2 separate regions of the Homo sapiens genome follow, and region 1 is linked to region 2. Evidence: promoter capture Hi-C in 16 types of primary human blood cells and fetal thymus (Javierre and others, 2016). All regions are on one chromosome and are shown on one strand. The core of a region is centred on a gene start or on the middle of the fragment in contact, and the rest is flanking DNA. Distances in the headings are between cores, read along the strand shown. Region 1 overlaps UBR3 (ubiquitin protein ligase E3 component n-recognin 3). Region 2 holds the start of BBS5 (Bardet-Biedl syndrome 5).

Region 1 (6,428 bases), core at 2,849-5,348, 540 kb before region 2:
TTAGGCCGGGCACAATGGCTTACGCCTGTAATCCCAGCACTTTGGGAGGCCGAGGTGGGTGGATCACGAGTTCAGGAGTTCAAGACGGTGAAACCCCATCTCTACTAAAAATACAAAAATTAGCCAGGTGTAGTGGCAGGTGCCTGTAATCCCAGCTACTCGGGAGGCTGAGGCAGGAGAATCGCTTGAATCCGGGAGACAGAGGTTGCAGTGAGCTAAGACCGTACCACTGGACTCCAGCCTGGGTGACAGAGCAAGACTCCGTCTCAAAAAAACAAAACAAAACAAAGCAAAAACAAAAATTAGCTGGGTGTGGTGGTGGGTGCCTGTAATCCCAGCTACTTTGGAGGCTGAGGCAGGAGAATTGCTTGAACCCAGGAGACAGAGGTTGCTGTGAGCCGACATGTTACCACTGCACTCCAGCCTGGGCAACAGAGTGAGACTCCGTCTCAAAAAAAAAAAAAAAATTTTCATAAATTGGTTCTATCTTAAATCGTACCACTGTTAAAATGCACCTAAAGTAAACTTAACTGGGTCTGTATTCAAGACTTCAGTCTTATCAGTCTAGTCATCAATGGTTAAATCACTGTCAATGGAAAAAACCTCAGCCAGGCAAGGTGACACATACCTGTAGTCCCAGCTACTCAGAAGGCTGAGATGGGAGGATTATTTGAGCCCAGGAGTTTGAGGCCAGCGTGGGTAACAAAGCAAGACCCTGTCCCTTAAAAAAAAAAAAAAAACTCAACTAGCCAAATGACTCTGAAATATCATGGGGGTGGAGAAAAAAATCTCCCTTTCTCTGCAACTGAATAATCAAAGTGAGGAAATGGTTCTGACCTACTTATCCTAAGGTGAATGTAATAGGTGTGAGTATACACCTCTCACATCAAAGCCAGCTTCCACTGGTTCCTCTGTATGTCCCTGAGAAATCAGCCATGAAGAGATGGGAAAGAGCTCTTTAAATGAGGTCTGGGAACAGGTCCAAGAAGAAGGGAACATCTGTAGATCTGGTTCCCAAGAGACAGAAGGTTGATGCCATGGATGACAGGAGCTGACTCATCTCTCCCTATCCCATTCCTAAGCACTCCAGGCAAGGCAGGGCAGAGAATCAAGTGGCAGTTATGGTAGAATTTTAAAGAGTTAAAAGACAAGTTTAATAATTATTATTATATATAATAACATATTATGTAAGATACTTTAGCTCATATATCTAATACTATTTGATCATTACATTAACTATGATGGATATATCAGATAGTCAGTATAAGTACCATCATCCTCACTTCCACAATGAGGTAAAAAGTTAGGTTAGGTTCCCAAAGTCCAACAGATAACAAATACACTAGAATCCATGCCTTCAAACTCCAACCCGGTGTTCCTTCCAGCACTATATGCTAGGTTTTCACCAGTCAACAAGGACACATGGGATTTTGGGAATAGAGTGGGGAAGTGTTGCTTCCTTTGGAGAGGTTTTTTCTGCCATGTGAGGAAGGGAAGACAGTGAAGAAAAAGGCTGTCTTGAGTACTTTCATACTTTCCATGTTGTGTTCCTCTCCTGCCTCCCGGAGTTCCTATGTCTCCACTCCCAGGCACAGTATGCCATAATTCTCTGGTTAACCCAAGTATCCACAAGTATTATTATTAGCTTCACCAAATTGTTCACCTTCTACTTTAAGGTTTCAGGGACTAGAAGCCTCCCCTTTTCGCTTTCCGACAGAGCTTGGGATGATAAGAGACAGGGAGAGGACAATTCTGCTTCTGCATATAGGTAGTCCTAGGAAGAGAGGTCAGTTCTTAGGACTCCTAACTTCCTCTTTACTAAAGAGGCACATTCCATGAATCCAGGTCTTATTTAAGCACCTCGTTTAAAATGGGGGTAGAGTTTGTCCTATCTAACTGCAGAAGAAAGAAGCTGCCTCGCCCTAAGCCAAGTAAGATCCAAAGACTCCTATGTCCTGATAGTGAAAATTACTATCTATGGTACTTAGTTCTTGAATGCCCAAATTATAAATACAGAAAGGCCTGGCTACTTAAGTCACAAATCATGGCACTTTCAGAAAGGCCTTAAAGAAAATTTAAAGCCACTCCTCTAACTTAAATTTTCATGCCACATTCTTAAACCTCTCCAAATTAACAATGTATTTTGTTCTCAAAAGATAAACTTTATCATGGGGATAAATCTCATTCTGTCCTCCTAATCTCATCTCTGAAGAGGTCAAAAGAAAGTCTGTCAAGTCCCTTAAAAAAAACTGCAATGGACTGAATGTTTATGTCCCACCAAAATTCATATGTTGAAGTCCTAACCCCAAGGTTAGTATAAGGAGGTGGGGCCTTTGAGAAGTGATTAGGTCACGAGGAAGCCCTCATGAATGGGATTAGTGCTCTTATAAAAGAGATCCCAGAGAGATCTCTTGCCCCTTCCACCACGTGAGGTTACAGTGAGAAGACAGCTATGTATGAGGAAGCAAGCAGGCCCTCACCAGACACCAAATCTGCTGGAGCCTTGATCTTAGACTTCCCAGCCTCCAGATCTGTGAGAAATACATTTCTGTTGTATATAAGCCACCCAGTCTATGGTATATTGTTATAGACTAAGACAAAAATTGAGCTAAAAAGTGTTATCTTGCTCCTTCTCCTTATCCACACACCCCCCAATTTGACAATTATAGTGTTGAAATAGGAGAAATATTAATGTTGAGATTTACAATCTATAGAAACTAGAATATATATTATAAAATTGAATTCTTACAACAATCCTCTGATTGGGTATTAATGAGGAACAGAATCTCACTCTCTAGTTTACACTATGCTGCCTTTTAATATCACCATCCTTTAAAAGGCTTACCAAACTCCTCACCTATCTCAAACAGTACTCCTTATCTCTGAAAGTGTTCAAGCACAGTGCAAACGATTGGAATAGTAGGTACAAGATGCCTGAGCTAGATAACATTTAGACTAGGAGATTTCCTAAGTAACTTTTAGCTCAAAGATTCTGATTCTATTTATCATGTGATTTCACTGACAGCCTCTATTTTTTATTTATGCACTATTTAAAATGAAGAGCAAAATAAAATATAAAACAAAATACCAAAATCTTCTGAATTTGTAAGATGTATCAAAAGAAAAGAAAAACAAAAACTCCAAGCTTTGATTTATTCTACAGTGTATGACTGTAGATAAAGTATAATTCTAAAAGTTCCTAGAGTATAACTCCTAGTCCAGCTATTTGCCTTTTATGCTTAATGTCAATGATGTTAATTAACAGGGGGGAAAAGCTCCAGATTTGAGCTTTGCATGTAACAGTTAACAACCATGAACATCTGTCAGGAGACAGAGCATCCAGCCTAGTACACTAATTTTATAGATGAGGAAACTGAAGCCAAAAACATAAAATGTCTTGCCTAAGCACATGCTTATGATCCTAGTTTGCTGTTGTCTATTCCACCACATATGTATCTTTCATGTTGGCCCTAAATACATACCAACTTGCTCTTCAGAACATAAAACATTCCCAAATACCACAAAATCACCTTTTAGCCATCAAATCTGATCAATAACTAGTCTCAGGAGACAATTTACACATTTTTGTATTAATTTATACCTTTTGACCATTATAATAATTTGATGGCCAAATTTTCCTTTTTTATGGTAACAAAAAAAATTGAACAAAATTGTGGTTCAATCTGCTTGCAGAAATTGGTATTTTTAAATTTGAAAAAGGCCTTCATAAGCCATCAGTGTCAGAATTTTACTACTAAGTGTGAAAGAATAAGGCCAGACTACTTAAAAGTAATTTTAGCCCAGGCATAGTGGTTCATGCCTATAATCCCAGCACTTTGGGAGGCCAAGGTGGGAGGATTGCTTGATGCCAAAAACTTGAGACCAGCCTGGTCAACATAGTGAGACCCCATCTCTACAAAGAAATGTATTAAAAAATTAGTCGGGCCTGATGGTGTGTGTCTGCTGTCCTAGCTACTCGGGAGGCTGAGGTGGAAGGAATGCTTGAGCCCAGGAGTTCGAGGCTGCAGTGAACTATGATTGTGCCACTGCACTCCAGCTGAGTGACAAAGGGAGAACCTGTCTCTCAACAATAAAAGGGTAATTTTGTAAAAACTCATTATTTGTTTAACATCTTTATGCTCCCTAACTGTAGGGAGAAATTAATGTCAAAATAATTTTCTATAATTTTTTTTTGAGACAGTATCTTGCTTTGTCACCCAGTCTGTAGTGCAACGGCACAATCATGCCTCACTCCAGCCTCCACCTTCTGGGCTTAAGCGATCCTCCCACCTCCATCTCCTGAGTAGCTGGGACCACAGGCACACGCCACCACACCCAGCTAATTTTATTTTTCTTTTTAGAGATGAGGTTCTCCCTATGTTGCCCAGGCTGTTAACAACTTTTGGACTCAAGCGATCCTCCCAACCTCAGCTTCCCAAAATGCTAGGATCACATGAGTGAGCCACCGCACCTGGCTAATTTTCTGTAATTTTAAATTCACCAAAAATTCACTCTTTGAGCAAGTAGAACTATTTTAAGTTGCCTGCACAGATCTAAGCTGGGTTGCTTGCTATGAAAAGCAAATCTGGTAGAAATTATTTACTGCAGTGACTATGCATAATTTCTTGATCAGATCATAGATTACATCAAAATTAAGTCAGAACTTCCCAAATGAAAATGTCAAGGCAAGAGTTTGCCTTATCCTCTTCTTGACTAACATTTCATTTTTAATCTTTCTATAAAATCATGGAATCCATTTGAGACATGAACTGTGGTTTCTTAGTTAAATGACAGTAATAAGCAGACAAATTCTCAGACCCAAAGACAGGAAGAGACGTTTACCTACAAATGAAATAATTTTTTATATTATGCTCCAATATTAATAATTTATCAAATGGCATTGCCAATGGTTTCAACAATTTCTACTTGAGAAATACACTGAGAATATCATGCCAAAAATGTGCTGAAAGAATGTGAACTTCACTAGAATTTATGGAGTGTCATATTTACTTTCAAATCACTTTAATGAAGAAATTAATACAGTAAGCTTAATATTTTTAATAAAAAGTTATGCCTTTAATTTTTACATCTGCTTTTTCCAACATATGTTGCTAACCAAGTTGGTGGTACTTACTGTATATACGAATTTGTAACAAAAACTCTAAACCTCACTTATCTTTCAAAGTCTTGTTCAAATGCCTTGTCCACCAAAAGCTTCACTGATTCCAGCAGATAGATATGATCACAAACCTCTAAATTCCCTAGAACTTCTAGGAAATTCACTGCTGGAATCAGCGAAGTTTTTGGTGGACATGGCATTGGAACAAGTCTCATCTGCTGAATACAAGTCCAGCAGATGAGAACCAGTCTCTAGAACCAGTATCATGTGCTGAATACATGGTCCTGAATGCCTGATCTTCCCTGGTGGGTAAGGAGGAGGGCTAGAGCTCTGACCCAGGAATCGGCAGCTATGCTATATGTGAGAACTAACGCACATGGCTCATAGCAAGAGCAAGGGGAACCAGCCAGCAAACTGGCAAGGAATAAAGAAGAGCTAACTGGTATCCAGGGCAGAAGGACTCAGTACTTGCAAAAATGTCTGAAAAGATGGCTCAAAACAAAAACAAAAACAAACAAACAAAAAAGGATTCACGGTGAAAGGCTGACAAAAGAAAATAGACAAGATAAATAGGAGAGTTAGCACAGAAGGGCCTGGAAAGATCCCAAGGCAATGTTGTACAGTAGAGTGTCTTTGACTAAACCAATGGCTGAAAGGTCTTAAAAGTTCTGCATCCTTTGGGACACTTAAGGGCAGGAGATATGTCTTATATAACTGAATTAGAGTCAGAAGAGCTGGGCTCAAGTGCAAGCTCTGACATTTTCCAGCTGTGTGACTTGGCAAGGCAATCACTCTGAACTTGAGATTCCTTTTCTATGAAAAAGAGATAACACCTATTTCACATGGTCGTTCTAAAGATTAAATAATTTATGTGAAAGAACTTTACAAACTTTAAAACTACAAATGTAGGATATTATATTATTAAAATACCATACTATGCTGCTATGTGAGCTAATTTGAGTAACTTTTTACTATGGAAAATTTCCCAGACACGTATTTTTAGGACTGACCTTTTATTTTGATTGACACTGGTTAACTACTCTCAACTATTTAAAAATGTTTGAAGATGTAGTTGAATGGCATTGTTCCATTTCAATTTTATTTCTCAGTAGAGATTTGGCCATTAATATTTTTTGCTTTCATTGTTGTAGAAAGAACAATCTTCCCTTCTCCCCCTGTGTGTGTGTGTGTGTGTGTGTGTGTGTGTGTGTGTCTGTGTGTGTGTGTGTGTGTGTGTCCGTAATTATATACCAGGCATTACGCAATCCTCTCTAGACAAAATTTATTAAAAGTTTTCTTGACTAGACAA
Region 2 (7,249 bases), core at 967-3,466:
TTTGACAAATAGATACAGGTGACAAAAGGAAATAAGAGCAGCTTGCTGACAGACAGAATACATTCTACAGTGTCCAAAAAAAAAAACCTAGCAAAATATCTAAAAGAGCCTTCTAATACACTCTTCATAAAGCCAACTCAACTACCTATTGAAAATACAGATATGACCATATCATTTCCCTGCTTAAAAGCTTTCTATATCTTCCTGCTGCCTAGAAGTTGAAGTCCAAAATCCTGAGCTAAAAATGTTACAATCTGGCTAATTTATCTATTTGTACTTCCAACCTCTCTCTGCAGCAGACCCTGCCTTTAGCTAATGAGGTTACAGCTCCAAGACTGCTTCTAACGCTAAATTCTTTTCTTCTTTTCTGGAATACTCTCCTCCTGTCTACCCTGACAAGGCTCTGCCCATTCTTCAGGGAACAACTCAAATACTATGAATATTTATTCTTCTTCAAGGACTTCACCAGGTAGAATAAATTGTTCTGTTTCTATGAGTCTCAGCTTTTCGCTCATTTTTTCAGAATGGTATTTACCACATTTATTATAGTGGTTGTCTGTATGTATCTCCTGCACTAGAACGGGGGGATATGAATATCATTTCCTATTATTTTCTGTCTCTAGCTATCGGCCCAGTAACTAGCACGTAATAAAACATGGATAAATGTTTACTAATGTTACTGAAACGGACTTTTGTTTGGATTAAGAACCCTACAAGAAAGACAGAAAATGTCGCCGGGCGCAGTGGCTCACGCCTGTAATCCCAGCACTTTGGGAGGCCGAGGCGGGCGGATCACCTGAGGTCAGGAGTTCGAGACCAGCCTCAACATGGAGAAACCCCGTCTCTACTAAAAATACAAAATTAGCCAGGCGTGTTGGTGCGTGCCTGTAATCCCAGCTACTCTGGAGGCTGAGGCAGGAGAATTGCTTGAACCTGGGAGGCGGAGGTCGCAGTGAGCCGAGATCGCGTCATTGCACTCCAGCCTGGGCAACAAGAGCGAAACTCTGTCTCAAAAAAAAAAAAAAAAAAAAAAAAAAAAGAATGACAGAAAATGTCATAGAAAGTGCGCAATATGTTACTACAGTCCGTAATTTTACGAATTCCTTTCTCTTTCATCTTCTTAAAGGGTCTAACATGTTAGCATTAGATATCTAGCTATACTTAACCTGAGAAATTTATCAATATTTCATTTTTCCATCTAAGGAGGTGAGGTCCATGATAAGGAACGATTCCATCTAAGGAGGTGAGGTCCATGATAAGGAACGATTCCACCTAAGGAGGGGAGGTCCATGATAAGGAACGATAAGAAGTAGCTAAGAAGCTCCATGCCATTAATCCAGGAATCTTAGCTTTAGCGTTTCTCAACACTTAGTAACCCAACCGGCATTTCCCGCCCTGGATTTTGGAGTAGGAGGTTTCTAACCACTTTTTCTTTACGATACTTTCCAAAAACATGGTTTCTATTTAATGTATGATAATTTCCAAAAACAGGTTGCAAAAGAAGACTCCTTCTTGTTGGTGACTGATATGAATAACTAGATGAAAGCTTACCAAGGACATAAAGTTTGCGCGGTTAGTAATTTTTGACGACTGCCTTACTCCCACCTCCCTTATTTTACAGACATGAGGATTCTAGCTTGAATGATGAAGACATCTGCTCAAGGGCCCACACTGTGGGTCGATATTACACATCTACTTTTAGAACCCTAGTTTCCTGAGTCCCTGACCTACGTTCCTTCCATGAAACTGAAATCCCAAGCTCACGTGGGTGTATACGGGACGCTAAGCCCCGGGTGGCCCCGGTCGTGCTCAGGTTCACATTCCTGATCCGTCCCGCGGGCCAGGATGGGGGAACCGGAGGTCGCATGGGACCAAAACTGTGTAATGCCGATGCGCTCTTGCCGCGGCGCCGGCCTCGAGAGGGCCACAGTGGCCCAACCAGCCTGAGGTCTCTCGAGGCGCGGACGACCGGCGCAAGCCTCCCACCCTCACCAGGGCCGCGAGCTGCGGAGGTGCAGTCTCCGCCCGCGGGTCCCTAACGCGCACGGCGGCGCCCTCTACAGGGTTGAAGATCCCTCGGGAATCTTGGAAACTCACTGCGCGGACAGGTCGAAACGGACATCCCGATCCTCCCAAAGCGCATCCAGCACCGACATGGTGAACAAGGCCCGTGGCAGGATCTCTCCACAGCCGTGCAGGCCTAGCTGCGTCTCTCTGGCTCCAAGGCAACGGGCCGCCTCTGTCACGACGTCTACGGCGGGCGCCGAGACTCAAGCTTCCGCGAGAGTGCGCGCGCGTCGCCCAGCTCTTTCGCGTCGTTAAGCCGATTTGAGATGCGAGGCAGGATTTAGGAGTCTCTGAGAAGCCCAGCTGTGTCCGCCAAGGGGAGCGTGCCTGACCTCTGGGCGACCTTCCTTGCCTCCAAACAGACATCCTTTAGCCATTTTACCCCTCTCCTTATTTCTCTTCACCGTCAAGAGATTCAGGTTATTAGCCGGGCATGGTGGCTTCTGCCTGTAATCCCTGCAGTTTGGGAGGCCGAGGCTGGAGGATCACTTGAGGCCAGGAATTCGAGACTAGCCTGGGCAACATAGCGAAACTTCATCTCTACAAACACAAACAAACAAACAAAACCAACCCAAAATTAGCCAGGGGTGGTGGTGCACGCCTGCAGGCTCAACTACTCGGGAGGCTGAGGCGGGAGGATCTCTTGAACCCAAGAGGTGGAGGCTGCGGGGAGCTATGATCGTGCCTCTGCCCTCCAGCCTAGGTGATAGAGATATAGGATCAACAGGTTCGTATGCCTGCTGTGCAGTAACAAACCCATTACACGAAGACAGCAGAGTTTGCAGCAGGGAAAGAGTTTAATGATTGCAGGGCACCTAGCAAAGAGATGGGAAGAGATCCTCGAATCTATCTTCCCAAGAGTTCTGGGCTGAGGTTTTTAAGAGGATCACAGAGGGCGAGGGGCTGGAAAATTGGGGTCCTTGATTGGTCGGAGTAAGGGAGATGAAATCATCAGGATAGGGAAGCTGCATTCTTTGCTGAATCAGTTTCTCACGGGTTCCTCAGACCAGCTGGCATCAGTGGGATCCTTCAGGCCAGCTGAGGCAGTAGTTTCATTGGTATGCAGGATCTGAAAGACTATCTCAAAGGGAAAACTGAGTATTTCATAATGTTCAAGTTGTTCTCTATAGAGCAATAGAAGGGAACTATAATCTTGTGACAGGGTCTGCATGATTCTAGGACAATAGGCACCAAACAACTCTGAGCAAGCAGGTCAGAGAGGAAGCTGACCTCATGATTAATGCCGAATTGGCTGCAAGCTTGGTTTATTTTTGTCCCCTCCCCCACACTTTCTTCCCTGATTACTTTTATAAATTTTATTGGGATGGTTTTAGAATGAGGAAAAAAGAAATTTAGAGTTAAAGCTTCAAATTCCTTACCTGGGCCTAGCTCAATGTGGCCCTGCCTATGTCTGCAACCTCCAACCACCCTCACTTCTGGCTGCTCTCTTGCCAGACAGGGCTCAGAGACTTTGGAGGGCCCCCTTCCTTTGCCTGGAACACTGTTTCCCCAGACCTCTGCATAGGCCTGCCCTTTGTCACTTAAATCTCTGCTTGGGCTGGGCGCTGTGGCTCAGGCCTGTAATCCCAGCACTTTGGGAGGCCGAGGTGGGCGGATCACCTGAGGTCAGGAGTTCGAGACCAGCCTGGCCAACATGGTGAAACCCCATCTCTACTAAAAACCCCAAATTAGCTGGGCACGGTGGTGGACGCCTGTAATCCCAGCTACTCGGGAGCCTGAGGCAGGAGAATCACTTGAACCCGGGAGGCGGAGGTTGCAGTGAGCCGAGATCACACCATTGCACTCCAGCCTGGGCAACAAGAGCGAAACTCTGGCTCCAAAAAAAAGTCAAATCAAATCAAATCAAATCACATCTCAGCTCACATGTCAACTCCAGCAGTCCCTGATCCTTCTGCCCCACCTGCTGTGAACAACCCGAGGACAGACACCTGATCTATCTAGTTGACTGCTTTGAACAATACCCAGCACAGAGTAGGACCCAGTAAATACTTCTTGAATGAATCAAAGTCCCTTTTCTCAATGCATGACAATTATTTAAATTAGTGGTTCACAAAGACTGATCTGGATCCCTACAGGGGGCCCACAAGGTCAAACTATATTCATAATAATGTGAAGACATCATTTGCCTTTTTAACTCCCATTCACATATAGTGGAGTTTTCCAGAGGCTATATGATTTTGTTGTTGTTGTTGTTGTTGTTGTTGTTGTCTTACAGGGTCTCATTCACCCAGGCTGAAGTACAGTGGCACGATCACAGCTCACTGTAATCTCAAGCTCCTGAGCTTAAGTGATACTCCCGCCTCAGCCTCCCGAGTAGCTGGGACTACGGGCATAGTCCTGGCTAATTTTTTATTTCATTTTATTTTATTTGTAGAGACAGGGTCTCTCTGTGTTTCCCTGGCTGGTCTCAAACTCGTAGCCTCAAGTGATCCTCCTGCTTTAGCCTCCCAAAGCACTAGGATTATAGGTAAGAGCCACCATACCCAGGCATGATGATTGAATGTGGAAGCAGGTATGAGAATCCTGGTGCCTTTTACTAAACCAGGCATTAAAAAAAATTGCAAAAATGTAAAGCAATGTTCTCACAAATTGTCTGGAAAATATAATTATTTTTTAAAAATGCTATATATGTTAATACATAATAAGTGATTTTTACTTTTGAATGAATGAGTTTTAAAACGCTCAGTATTAACAGATATAATGTATGTAAACAAAAGCTCTTTTAGGTCCTCAATAATGTTTTTAAGAGGATAGTGGGGTCCCAAAACCAAAAGTTTGATAACTGCAGCTTTGAATTATTATTTAGAGCTCCTATAGGTCAGGCTATATGCCAAATACTAGGGATACTAATGTGAAAGGCCATGAGGTGTTTTTCTCAGATTGAAGAGGGTGATGGAGACAAAGGAACGTGAGTGTACACACATTAAGGTGGACTCCAATGAGTCATGCCCTTGTATAATCTCTTCCCCATGAGTGTGGTTGGAACCTGAGAACTTGCTTCTAGTCAATAGAATATATCAAAGGTGATGAAATGTCATTCCCACGACTGTTATGTTATAAAAGACTTGGTCTCAGCCAACTGGGGTGAGAAAGACCCTCCCACTTGCCTTGAAGAAGCCAGCTGCTAGGCTGGGTGCGGTGGGTCATGCCTGTAATCCCAGCACTTTGGGAGGGCAAGGCAGGTAGATCACCTGAGGTCAGGAGTTCAAGACCAGCCTGGCCAACATGGTGTAACCCTGTCTCCTCTAAAAATACAAAAATTAGCCAGGTGTGGTGGCAGGCGCCTGTAATCCCAGCTACTCAGGAGGCTGAGACAGGATAATTGCTTGAACATGGGAGGTGAAGGTTGCAGTGAGTGGAGATTGCACCATTGCACTCCAGCCTGGGTGACAAGAGTGAAACTCTGTCTCAAAAAAAAAAAAAAAAAAAAAAGAAAGAAGCCAGCCGCTATGTTATGAATTAGTACCAGAGACCTTCGTCCTATAGGTCCAAAGAACTGAAATTTGCCAACAATCTGAATGAGCCTGGAAGTGGATCTTTCCCAGGTTGAGCTTCAGATGAGGCTGTAGCCTTAGGAAATATCTGAATTGCAGCCTGGTGAGACCCTGAAGCAGAGAACCCAGGTAAGCTTGCCTGGACTTCTGGCCTACAGAAATGATAAGATAATAACTGTTTTGTTTTAAGCTGCTAAATTTGTGATAATTTATTATGGAGCAATAAAACACTAATACAAATGCGGGCCAGAGGTACTGGTGTGCACCTGTAGTCCCAGGTACTTGGGAGGCTGAGTCAGGAGGATCACTTGAGCACAGGAGTTTGAGGCTGCAGTCAGCTATTGATTGCACCACCACAATCCAGCCTGGGTGACAGAGACAGACCCTGTCTTTAGGGAGGACAAATCGTAGAATTGGCTTTGGAACTTGTGAGCAAGCAGGAGCTTTTAGAGCTAGCAAAATCCTATTGGTAGGAAGCAGGCTGATAGATTAATCAAACATGTGCTACCTTCCATGAAAAAGCAAGGATGACTCACAATGGAACCAAGAGCCCAAAGGGTAGGTTGGAAGTCAAGGAAGATTATTCCTAGATCTTAAAACTTAATCAATAAAAATCCAACATTTGTCCAGATAAATGACAGAATTGTTATATACCAGTAACTCATTTTTACCTTCCATTTCCTTATTCCCTTTCGCCATTTTTGTATTGGTATGTCTGTAACTGTTATTCTATGTCAGTCCCACCGTTGTGTGATGGAGTGTTGGGAGCAGACTTGTCTCTAGTTTCACAAGTCCACAGAAAGGAATTGTGCTTTGAAGAACTGAGCTTAATGGATCACACCCAGCCTCATCTTCACCAGATATATATAATTCAGATGATGAGAGTTTGGACTTTGAGCTGATGCTGTAAGAAGATGGGGGGAACCTTGGGAGGGAGGAAGTTTTTTTCCCCTTTGGAAGGAACACAAATTGTTGGAGGCCAAGGGGCCTACTGTGGTAGGCAGAATTCTACATAGCCCCTAAGATTCTTGCTTTCCTGGTGTACATGCCTTATATAATCCCCTCTTCTTGAGTGCAGAAGAATCTATGAATGTGATAGGATATCAGTCCTCCGATTAGGTAATGTTATATGACAGGTGAAGTAGTTTTGCAGATATGATTAACGTCCTTTAAAGTAATCAAAAGAGAGATTATCCTTGCTGGCCTGCTGTTATCAGGTGAGCCTTTAAAAGAGAGTCTCCTGCTGGCTTTGATGAAATAGAAGCCACGTTGTGAGAGAGCCACATGGCTAGGAACTGAGAATGGCCTCTAGAAGCTGAGAGACAGCAAGAAAATGGAAACTCCAGTCATTTACCCACAAGGAACCGAATTCTGCCAGCAACCTGAATGGGTTTAATGACATCATGTTCTTGGCTGAATTTTGACTTTGGGTGAGACCTTGAGCAGAGACCCAGTCTGCACTCCTGACCCACAAAAACTGTGAGGTGATATATTTGTGTATTTTAAACTTCTAAGATTGTGATAATTTACTGTGCAGCAGCATTAACATACTGGCATCACAGTAGAATCTTTGAAATGACTGGGGGAAGACAATGACAACCTATTATTCATCAATACGCATATAACTGACTTTCATATACTTAGAAAAAAATAATATACTTGGATGG

What was found. Contacts are between HindIII fragments. The CHiCAGO score rates a contact against its expected background, and 5 or more counts as called.
Region 1: a fragment that was not itself captured here is called in contact with the fragment with the promoter of BBS5 in region 2 in 1 of 17 cell types (M2 macrophages); the score reaches 5.2 in M2 macrophages.

The regions. Positions count from the first base shown.
Region 1 is chr2:170,017,451-170,023,878 of GRCh38, reverse strand. The region is part of intron 30 of UBR3 (ubiquitin protein ligase E3 component n-recognin 3); the gene reads right to left. Among named protein-coding and RNA genes, the nearest start is that of MYO3B, 160 kb to the left of the region's middle. The HindIII fragment of the contact is 1,902 bases long and covers 3,148-5,049 here.
Region 2 is chr2:169,474,461-169,481,709 of GRCh38, reverse strand. BBS5 (Bardet-Biedl syndrome 5) reads right to left here and starts at 2,216. Exons shown (of 12, transcript NM_152384.3): 1 at 2,098-2,216. The coding sequence starts at 2,156. RefSeq lists enhancers at 1,943-2,282, 2,293-2,402. The HindIII fragment of the contact is 729 bases long and covers 1,549-2,277 here.